Regions from separate parts of the Homo sapiens genome. Here regions 1 and 3 are each linked to region 2. Evidence: promoter capture Hi-C in 16 types of primary human blood cells and fetal thymus (Javierre and others, 2016). All regions are on one chromosome and are shown on one strand. Each heading gives the region's core, a stretch centred on a gene start or on the middle of the fragment in contact. The rest is flanking DNA. Distances are from core to core; before and after follow the strand shown. Region 1 overlaps LOC124904185 (a long non-coding RNA gene). Region 2 holds the start of USP24 (ubiquitin specific peptidase 24). Region 3 overlaps LOC124904185 (a long non-coding RNA gene).

What was found. Contacts are between HindIII fragments. The CHiCAGO score rates a contact against its expected background, and 5 or more counts as called.
Region 1: a fragment that was not itself captured here is called in contact with the fragment with the promoter of USP24 in region 2 in 1 of 17 cell types (total B cells); the score reaches 7.7 in total B cells.
Region 3: a contact is called between a fragment that was not itself captured here and the fragment with the promoter of USP24 in region 2, in 4 of 17 cell types (total B cells, naive B cells, M0 macrophages and 1 more). The highest score is 13.9, in total B cells.

What each region holds. Positions count from the first base shown.
Region 1 is chr1:56,408,430-56,411,573 of GRCh38, forward strand. It overlaps LOC124904185 (a long non-coding RNA gene), which reads right to left. Exons shown (of 2, transcript XR_007066106.1): 2 at 1,738-3,144. Among named protein-coding and RNA genes, the nearest start is that of LINC01767, 5.0 kb to the right of the region's middle. The HindIII fragment of the contact is 233 bases long and covers 1,147-1,379 here.
Region 2 is chr1:55,213,788-55,217,125 of GRCh38, forward strand. It overlaps USP24 (ubiquitin specific peptidase 24), which reads right to left and starts at 1,577. Exons shown (of 68, transcript NM_015306.3): 1 at 1,003-1,577. The coding sequence starts at 1,326. It overlaps LOC100507634 (a long non-coding RNA gene), which reads left to right and starts at 1,621. Exons shown (of 1, transcript NR_038320.1): 1 at 1,621-3,338. RefSeq lists an enhancer at 465-524 and silencers at 985-1,174, 1,245-1,754. The HindIII fragment of the contact is 9,819 bases long and covers 1-3,338 here.
Region 3 is chr1:56,424,900-56,428,243 of GRCh38, forward strand. All of the region lies in intron 1 of LOC124904185 (a long non-coding RNA gene), which reads right to left. Among named protein-coding and RNA genes, the nearest start is that of LINC01767, 12 kb to the left of the region's middle. The HindIII fragment of the contact is 4,004 bases long and covers 1-3,344 here.

The DNA of each region.
Region 1 (3,144 bases), core at 13-2,512, 1.2 Mb after region 2:
GTAAAAAGCTAGATATAACCTAAATATTTAGCAACGGAAGATCAGTTAAATAAACAGTTCATTCATAAAATGAAATACTATGCAGTCTTTTTAAATGATACAGAAATACGTTTATAGATGCAGAAAGACATTTATGATATATCGTTAAGCAGAAAAGCTGGTTACAAATATATACATGCGGAAAAAAAGTCTGGAAAGACATACCAATGTGATTGTAGCTCTTATATCTGAATGGCAGAATTTATGGATAATTTTTATTTTTTTACTTATCAGTATTTTCTCAATTTTAGATAATATGCCTTACTTGTGTAATAGAAAATAAAATAAAATTTGCTTTTTTAAAGGGTAGGGACATGGTATTCACACAGACTTGGGTTCCAATCCCAGCTAGACCACCAATTAGCAGTGTGACCACAGAGACATTACTTACATCCCCTGAGCTTCAGTTTCTTCATATCCAATATGGGTATAAGGGCACTTTCCTCATGAGGTGGTCTTGAGGTTTACATGTGAAAGCATTAATCAAGTGCTTGACGCAGGGTAGGTACTGAGCTACATTTTTCCCCTTTCTTCCTGGATGTCCAAAAATAACTGAGGTAACCATTTACAATTACAACATGGTCAAACACGCCAAGTCATGTAAAATGTAGATCCGGAAATTATGAGAGACTAGTATTTAGTGCTTCAGCCTAACTCTTTTCTCTCTGATCTCCCCAGCCCCATGCAGTGCGGCGGCAGATGCAGAGATTCCCGTTATTAACCAAGGTGTCTTGAAGGTTCGGAGGCCATCCAGGTGGAATAAAGCAGGCTGTGTTACCCAGCCCCATCAGCAGGTGGGGCCGGTCTCACCTGGTGTCTTCATTCAGCCTGGCACACCTCCCCACCAGGCATCAGACTGTATGTCATAAGGGGCTATTCCGTCAGTTACTGCACATGTTTGAGACTCTCACTCTACCTGCTCCCACCTCAATCCAGTTCCCGTTTGTGCCTCCACCTCCACTTACAGTCTCACTCTTACCACTTAGGATTTTAGCCTCTTCATAGGGGAACTTCGTTGCCTATCAGGAATGTCTGGAATTTGTCCTGCCTTCCCCCAACTACTCATTCATTTCCTCACCAAACTTTATGACTACCTAATGGGTGCCAAGCTTTGTGCTAGGACTCAGAGATCAATCAGAGACAGCAGACCCTGATCTTGGGGGAGCCACACAGCCTGCCCCAAGGCCTCAGGTGGGGAAAACAGACTGGAACACAGACCATAACCAATAGCTATTATAACACAGCACTACAATGCTGTGTTATAGTAACTATTATCATTAGAATCTTTATATAACACTTGTTATATACCAGGAGCTGTTCTAAGCACTTTATATATGTTAAGCTTAATTATTACAACTTATCTATATGAGATAGGTTAAAATTATCTCTATTTGATTGATAAAGGAATTGAGGCACAGAGCAGTTAAGTAACTTGCCCAGGATAGCACAGTTGGTAAATGGCAGAACCAAGATTTGAACTGAGCCTCCTTTACACTCTTAAAAATGACAGGATTCTAAAGAGGTTTTGTTTATGTGGGTCATGTCTAGTAATATTTATCAAGTCAGAAATTAGAGAACTTTTAAAAACATTTATCGATTCCCTTAAAATAACAGTAATAAATCTGTTACATGTTAATCTAAATAATAAATTTTAATGAAAAAAAATCCATAGCAAAATTAGTAAGAAGAATGCCATTGTTTCAGGTTTGCAACATCTTTAATGTCTGACTTATTAACATACAAAGCAGATTCACATATATTTTGCATTCAGCCTATTGTCATGTGTTATTTGATTAAAGGATATGAAGAAACCTGGCCTCACACATCATGAAGTTGAATAAGGGAGAAGTATTTTAATAATCTATTCAGATAACTGTGGACATTCCTCTTTGATAGTACACCAAAACTTGACAAGTGGTGGATTTTTAAAGGGTCACTGCCATGTGGAATCTGAAACCAGCTCACAGTGAAGGATACAAGTTTTCCAAAATCCCAGTTTTTCATTTGAACTCTCAAATTTTATAATTGGCCGTACATACTGTCATTTGTTTTCCTTGAAGTAACAGCTCTGACTTCATCATTTAAATATATATATGTGTGGGTGGATGTGTGTGCGTGTGTCTGTGGGTGTGTGTAGGTGTGTGTGTGGGTGTGTGTCTGCCAACTACCCATGGCTGAATAACTGCAGTGTGTCTGTCAATCGTTCTTTCCAGGAAAATGGTTTTCCATGGAGAAAATGGCTACTTCAGCTCCCAACTCACTCACTCACTCTGGTGCTTTTCCTTGAGACCACCACTGTGCTTTTGTAGGCAACAGAAAAGCTTTACCCATACTCTTATCTCATCACACCAATCATTAAAAAGACAGGCCAGACACTCGAAGGCTGAAGTTTAATAAATTTGATCATTTTTATTGCTTCGTCAAGGACATTAAGTGAAACTGACTTTTTTCTTCCTACCGTGCACATGTGGTGGTGAATAATACAATGATAACTACTGCAGTTTGCTACCACTACCTTGATCCAAACTAAAGCACCAGCTGTTTACCACTGTTGCTTTTACACCATCAGTTTAAACATCAACCAATGAAAAGGGAAAATTACATCTTAGTAGCATTATAAAAATAGTTCTGATCTCATGAACCTCTAAAAGTACCTCAGGTTCCTCCAGGGTCCTCAGGCCACGCTGAGAACCATGGCTCTATACTATATAATCCAGGATAAACCTGGGGCTATGTCAGCTTCCTCACTGATCAAAGTTCAGATTAAAGCCCAACCCTGAGCCCAGAGGCCTTGGGATCTGGACAATCTTTCTTTGGCCAGCCCTTGTCCCTCATCTCTCAGAGCTAGGCCGAGTCTCTTGAACTCCAAGCTCTAGCTTAGATTCTCACTGAAGACCATCTTTCCCTCAAGTCAGACCAACCATAGGCTAGACAAAACCTCAGTTCACCTCACCCTTAAGACACTCATTAGACTTCTAGCCACTCAGGGAAAGAAAAGAGAGGAGAACTCCCATCTGGAGCCCTTACTGCGTGCCAGGCATGACATTCTTTAATTCAACTCTCATCACCTCCACTCTGCTAGCAAAGAAACTGAGGCTCAGGGAA
Region 2 (3,338 bases), core at 327-2,826:
CTTGCTCACACCCCAAACTAAACAGGCATAGTCTTCTCCACCTAGACTTGAGGTCTCTGATCAAAGCCATTAGCCTCAAGACTCCTCCTCCACCCCCACTGCGCTCCCACCCTGTTCCGCGCCCCTCTGCATAGCACCCTCAGTATGACTACCATCTCTTTCCCCGGTCTAATTTTCTCTCATTTCTGACCTTATCGATGACCAGTACTCCCTCTTTACCCAGACCTGGTGCCAGCTCTATCTTCCAATTCCAGTCCCCATCCCTGCCTAGACCCTCCTCAGCTCCCACCCCTGCCCAGGCCTCCCACCTCTGCCCTCTCAGTGCAATCCCCACTGCTCTCATACCTGATTTTATTCAAGTCCTCATTCCTGGCCGCGGCCCCTTCCCTCTTCATTTTAAATCCTACTCAATGCCCCCCCTTTCCGACCCTTGGCTAAAACCCCAACCTCACTCCTAACCCCAACAGTTTTCCTGTGATCCTGTCAAAGACCACTACTCTGGCCGGCCCACACCGCTTTTTCTGACTCTGAGCCTGGTGCCTCCGCCAATCCTTCACTGAAACCTCGTGCCACAAAATCTCCGACCTAGCCTAGTGCACTAGTACCCCATTTCCGACCCCCTACTGCACGCATCCTTCCCACTATATGCTCAAGTGTCTGTCCTCCCATCTCGGATGATAGCCCTGGAGCCTCCTCCCCATCGTCGGCGTGCATAGCCGGAAGCCTAAGGGACCCCTCCTCACCCCAACCCACAGCTCCGCTGCGCATCCCTAATTCCCTTTCACACGCCTCTCCTATGGGTCCCTCTCCCCACTTACCCCCAATCAAGTGACTTCGGTTCCCAACTGGAGCCTGGGGCTTCTCTCTCTCTCTCCGCCCCGCCCCCACTAAAGCCCCAGTCGAATGCCCTCTCTCCCCACACCAAGCCCAGCGGGGTGTGTCCCCTCCCAGGAACTCCAGCCCAGTGGCTTCCCACAGAGGTCTGGGGTTGCCCCTCCTCACCTCCGCGTCCACCACCTCGTGGTAGGCGGGCGGGGGGTCGAAGCCGCCCCCGCCTCCGGTGCTCCCGCCGCGGGAGGGGCCGCCGCCGCCGCCGTCACCTCCGCCGTCGCCCCGCGGGCCCCCGCCGGGCCCGGGGCTGGGGCCACCGCCGCTGTCCATGGGCTCGTAGCCGCCGTAGTCGAGGCCCGGCCGCTCGTTGGTGAGCAGTGCCACGGCCTCGTTAATGTCGTTCTTGGCCAGGCGCAGGGCCTTGCGGATGGTGGCGGGGTCTGAGAAGCCCATGCACAGCAGCGTGGTCATGTGCTGCTCCTCCTCCGATTCCATGGCTTGGGCCTCCTGGCCGCCCCGGCCAGCGCACGGCGAAGCTACGGGTCCCGGGCCTGGCGGGCCGCGCGGCGCACCCTCCGCGCCGCCTCCGCGCCCAGGTTGGCCCCTGCGTTCCTGCCCCGGGTGCTCCGCAGCAGCCGGGCCAGGCTGGGTGCGGGCTTGGGTCCTGCGAGCCGAGCTAGTGCGGTGAGGCGCTCAGGCGCGGCTGCGGCCCGGCCCAGCCCTGCGCGCCGCCATGTTGGCCTCCTCCCCCTCCGCCTCCTCCTCCCCGGGCGGCGGGGCCGCGCCTCGGCTCCCGGAAGCGGCACGGGAGGCGACCGTGCTCGCCGTTGGCAGGCTAGGGTTGGCGGCGGCGTATTCTGTTTGTTTTAAACGAAGGAGCGGAGGGAGGGGCCGCGCCGCGGAGCGTGCCTAAGGTGAAAGGGCTGCCGTGCAGCCAGGCAGAGGCGAGGAAGGCTTCTCCATCGTCGCCACCGCCCGCCTGTTTCGCCGGCAACAGGTTCCCCCGGGACGGGAGGGGCCGCAGCGCCGCGCAGCTCGCAGCGCTGAACGTCGCGGAAATCCCTTGGCCGGCCGAGCCTCCGCAGCCGCGACCCGGCTTCTCTCCGTCCGAGTCCCCCGAGCCTCTCCGAACCCCCGTTGGACTTCCCCTCCCTGGCCGGCGCCGCCCGACCCGCTCCCCCATCCTAGAGGGAATTCCCTGCGCCGCGGCTGTGAGGCACCTCCACCCCGGCCTGAAATGCACCGCAGTCCTGAAGGAAATCCACCCTCATCCCACGCAGATTCACCCGCAACGCTGCCTGAATACGCCTCGCTGCCCACAGAAATTCCTGCCCAAACCAGACGCGTGGACCACCCAAGACGAAATTCACACTCGACCCTAGCCCCGCCAGCCCTTGCCGAAATCACCCTAAACCCGTTGAAATTAATTCCCAGCTGTCCGAATTTTCCTTCCAACATTAACTGACTACCTGTCTCCGCCAAGCTGACTGAACTCTACCGAACTCTTACCCTGAAAGCCCCTGAGAGTCCAAAATATATTTTTCCAGCCCGAAATCTAAATCCCAGTTCTCTGTATGAAAACCTCCAGAAACCCAGACTCTTACTTCCTTCGGCCACGGACTCGTTCGAACATCGTGGACATCACCTTCCCACATTTTTACCGCAGTCTTTGGCTCCGATTCTTTGTCCCTGCCTCTTGGGCAGCATCCTATCCCTGTTTCTTTCCACCTTTGAGGATTCCTCTACCTCTTTAAAGGCCTGCTTTCTTTGCTTTCTCTTCTCACCTTTGGCATTGGCACACTGGGGTCATATCTTTAGTTCCCTTGACTCCACCATCTAAGCCAAGGGTGTCCAATCTTTTGGCTTCCCTGGGCTACATTGGAAGGAGAAAAATTGTCTTGGACCACATATAAAATATTCTAACGCTAATGGTAGCTGATGAAACTTTTAAAAAATCTCATCATGTTTTAAGAAGTTTACGAATTTGTGCTGAGCCGCATTCAAAGCCGTCCTGGGCCTAAGTCCTTGCTATTTTTCCTCTTCAATTTCCTTCAATCCATAGTTCTCTAGGTTATTTTCCCACCCTTTCCCAAGATTCGGATATCCCTTCATTCTTGCTGAGTTCATCTCCTATGCCTATTCCTACATACTTGCTGAGTTCATCTTCTAATGTCCTCATCCTGGTTTCTTCCTGAACCTGAAATCCAGCTAACCTTACTTTTTCATCCCATCAAACCCCTGCTGTTGCCAGCCCAGCACTCACGAAGATCTTTACATACACCAAATATTAAATTAGGGCCGGTACCTAGACATTGTCTCTGCACTCTGCTGGCATATTTTCCCCTGGACCACGAACCCTTCGTACCTAGTAACTTGCCACCTGTGTTTATAAATACCAGCAATTTGATTTACAGGGTGAATTTGTCACTATTGTTTACTTTTAAATGAAGTTACTGTATTTGTTGTTTCCATTAAAGGCGACATTATAAAGCCTAGGCCTCATATCC
Region 3 (3,344 bases), core at 679-3,178, 1.2 Mb after region 2:
GCACAATGTGCTAACTCAGTCAGTGTGGATGCCCTTTCCTTCCCTTTTTTTGCAACTGCTTCAGAGAACCCCACCCACTTTTGTATGCCTCACTGCCTGGGACAAGGCAGCTTTACCCTGTGCCCCATTTAAGCCCTGAATCTCAATGCATCTTCAGGGAAACCTTCAGAGTGACTGCTGCCATTCACTTTTCAAAGACCCCAAAATGGGGCTCCAAGCCTCAGTCCAATCAGCGTAACTAAGGGAAGGAGCTGGAACAACAAGGATTGTGGGAGATTAACCAGCTCTCCCACTGAGAGGCCAGGCAACCTATGTTACTAAATCCTTCTACCGGATTAAGCCAGAGCCCACAGATCACCCACAGGCTTGAACAGATGTGACACAACGGGGCACTTTCTGGGCCTTGGTCCAAGGAAAGAGCTAAAAGTAGATGGTGCATGGGCACAAGGCACTTGTCACTCTCTCCCTTGTAGAGGCAGTGGGCCGTCTCAGAAAGAACATGAGTCAAAAGACCTGGTTAGCCCAGCTTGGCCATGTGCCAGCTGTTTGACCTTGAGTGAGTCACTTCACTGCTCTGGGCCTCTGTTCCTTCAATGGAAAAATGGAGCTCATCATATGGATTTCACAGTCATGAAGGATTCTGAAATAATCAATCCAAATTTTATTTCTTCAAAGACCATCAAAATGAAACATGAATGGGATTGTCTCTGGCAGGATAAAGGCCTGGCTTTAAGGATGAAACATGTCTGTGGCTTCCCTAACTCCTCCCCTCCTTCCTCAGTGCTCCTCGGTGCCTTTCACATGCTTCCCCCATAACACTCTGCTTCAGGAGTTCCTCTCCTATAATTCGGCTTCTCGGAAACAGGGATTCTGCAACATTTATCTCTGCTTTCCCACACCTGGCCACACATGGGTTCCTAAATATGTATATCCAACTAAATGCACTTTGTAAATGATGCAACCCTCTGATGATTATCTACAGTCTAGGAGGGGAAATGGAACATATCCATAGATATTAACATATCTGTCAATATTAGCATATCAATGAGCATATCTATCAAAATATTCCATTTTCCCTCCTAGACTGTAGATACTTTGAGAGCAGGGGTCAGACCTACTTTATCCATGTATCTACCACAGCGCCAAACTAGACACACAGGTAATGTTCAGTCAGTATATGTGGAAAGCAAGGAGAAAGATGGGTATGTGAAAAGCAAGGAGAAAGATCTGAAGGGGAGAGAAAGAAATAGAAACTCCCCCTCCCCAACAGCAGCAGCTAACCCAGCCAGTTCACCTACCCACTCAGCCACTGGGCAGACCCATACTCTCACTCCTCTTCCTGAGACCAGAATTGAGATTGTTTTTAGTCTTCCTGGCCCAAAACTACAAAATCCACAAGGGCCAGCTATAATTTTTCTTTCCACCAAGATTTTCCTGTATGATGTCTAAAGACTCAACAGTCACCCAAAGGTTCTGATTGCAACGGATCGTCAGGGTTACAGATCCCCTGTAGAATTTCTCTACTAAGATGGGTGAGAAGAAATCATCTTCCATTTGTTTGCCCTAGACACAATGCTGTTTTCAACCCGTTTCTTTGCCCATGTTGTCTCCTTTTGTCTAAGATGCCTTTTTGCAACCTCCAAACCATATCGTCACACTCTACAATTCCTCCCACCATCATGCTGACGGCAGCCAATTTGCCCAGCAGACTCATACTTACCCTTCAAGATGCAACTGAAATGGAACCTCACTAGCATAGGAGGTGGTCTGCACAGGGGGCATACAGAACAGTTGCTAGGAGCCCTGACATTAGAGTTAAATCTCAACACTAGCCCATACAAGTTCTAAGACCTTGGGAAAGTCACTGCCCATTTCTGAGTCTCAGTTTGCCCATCTGTAAAATGGACAGGATAGCAAGCACCTTCTTCATAGGGTTGTTATTAGGAGTAAATTGGAGAAATGAATGTAAAGGGCTTGGCAGAGTACTTGGCACATAGAAAGCTGTGAATAAATGGCAGCTGTAGGTGGGTATGAAATATTCCTTGTCTCCCAGATTGGATTAGGCACCCCTGCTCCCTACCCCCATGGCACCCTGTGCTTACTCCTGTAGTGGCCATTTATCGAACTGTTTTCATATCTGCTTATACTTGTGACCCTAAGCTATGGGGAACTCACAGGCAGGAACTCTCTCTGTCTCATTATCCCCATGGTCCAGTACTAGGGCTGTTTATTGCATGAGTGAATGAATTAGTGGAATGAATAAATACATGAATAAATAGAGTGGATGAATATATCTCTAGGCTACATGGAGAGCAGTGCTTACTCTAAGCTCCACCAGGGCTGGAGATGGGGCTGCCAGAGTGGCTTAGGTCTGAACCATGCCTAGGATGCCACAGGAAGCCCATGAGGCCAAAGACCAGTGGGGACAGTGGGACTTAAAGGTAAATTTTTGTTATGGCTGAGCTTGCCCCTGTCACCCTCTCCCAAGGCCTGCCAGGTGACTAACAATCAATAAGTATTTGGTTGGAATTCAGAGATGCATTCATTCATCCAACTAATATGTATTGAGCCAGACAATGTTCCAGGAAATAGGGCATAACCATGGATAAGATGGGTGTATTTCCAAGAGAGATGAAAGAAAGTGGTTGGGTGTGGTGGCTCACACCTGTAATCCCAGCACTCTGGGAGGCCGAGGCAGGCAGATCACAAGGTCGGGAGTTTGAGACCAGCCTGGTCAACATGGTAAAACCCTGTCTCTACTAAAAATACAAAAATTAGTTGGGTGTGGTGGTGGGTGCCTGTAATCCCAGCTACTCGGGAGGCAGGAGAATGGCTTGAACTCAGGAAGCAGAGGTTGCAGTGAGCCGAGATCGTGCCACTGCACTCCTGCCTGGGTAACAGAGCAAGGCTCCATCTCAAAAAGAAAAAGAAAAAGAAAACAGAAAGAAAGAAATAAAATATGATTCCCTTTTGGATTATATGATGAGAGGTAACACAGGCCAATATCACCTATGGCTGTGGAAGTTGGAAGAGAAAAGAGGAGCAACAGACAGGGAGTCAGGAAACCCAGATTCTTATTTTTGCTGTCAGCACAGTCATCTCAACCAAGTCACTTGGCCTCTCTCTGCCCCTGGGACACATGACTTATACAGGGATGACCTATCTGCCCTACCCACCACAAGACCAGATATTCAAACTGAGGATGATTGTAGAAAATGCTCTGGAGTTATGGAAAGAGGACAACTTTTTGGCTCTGTGAACTGAGATACATCATTCATATCTCCAAAGCTCTACTTATTCAACTGTTAAATGGGGATAGCCATACACGCTTGGTCTACTTTGCA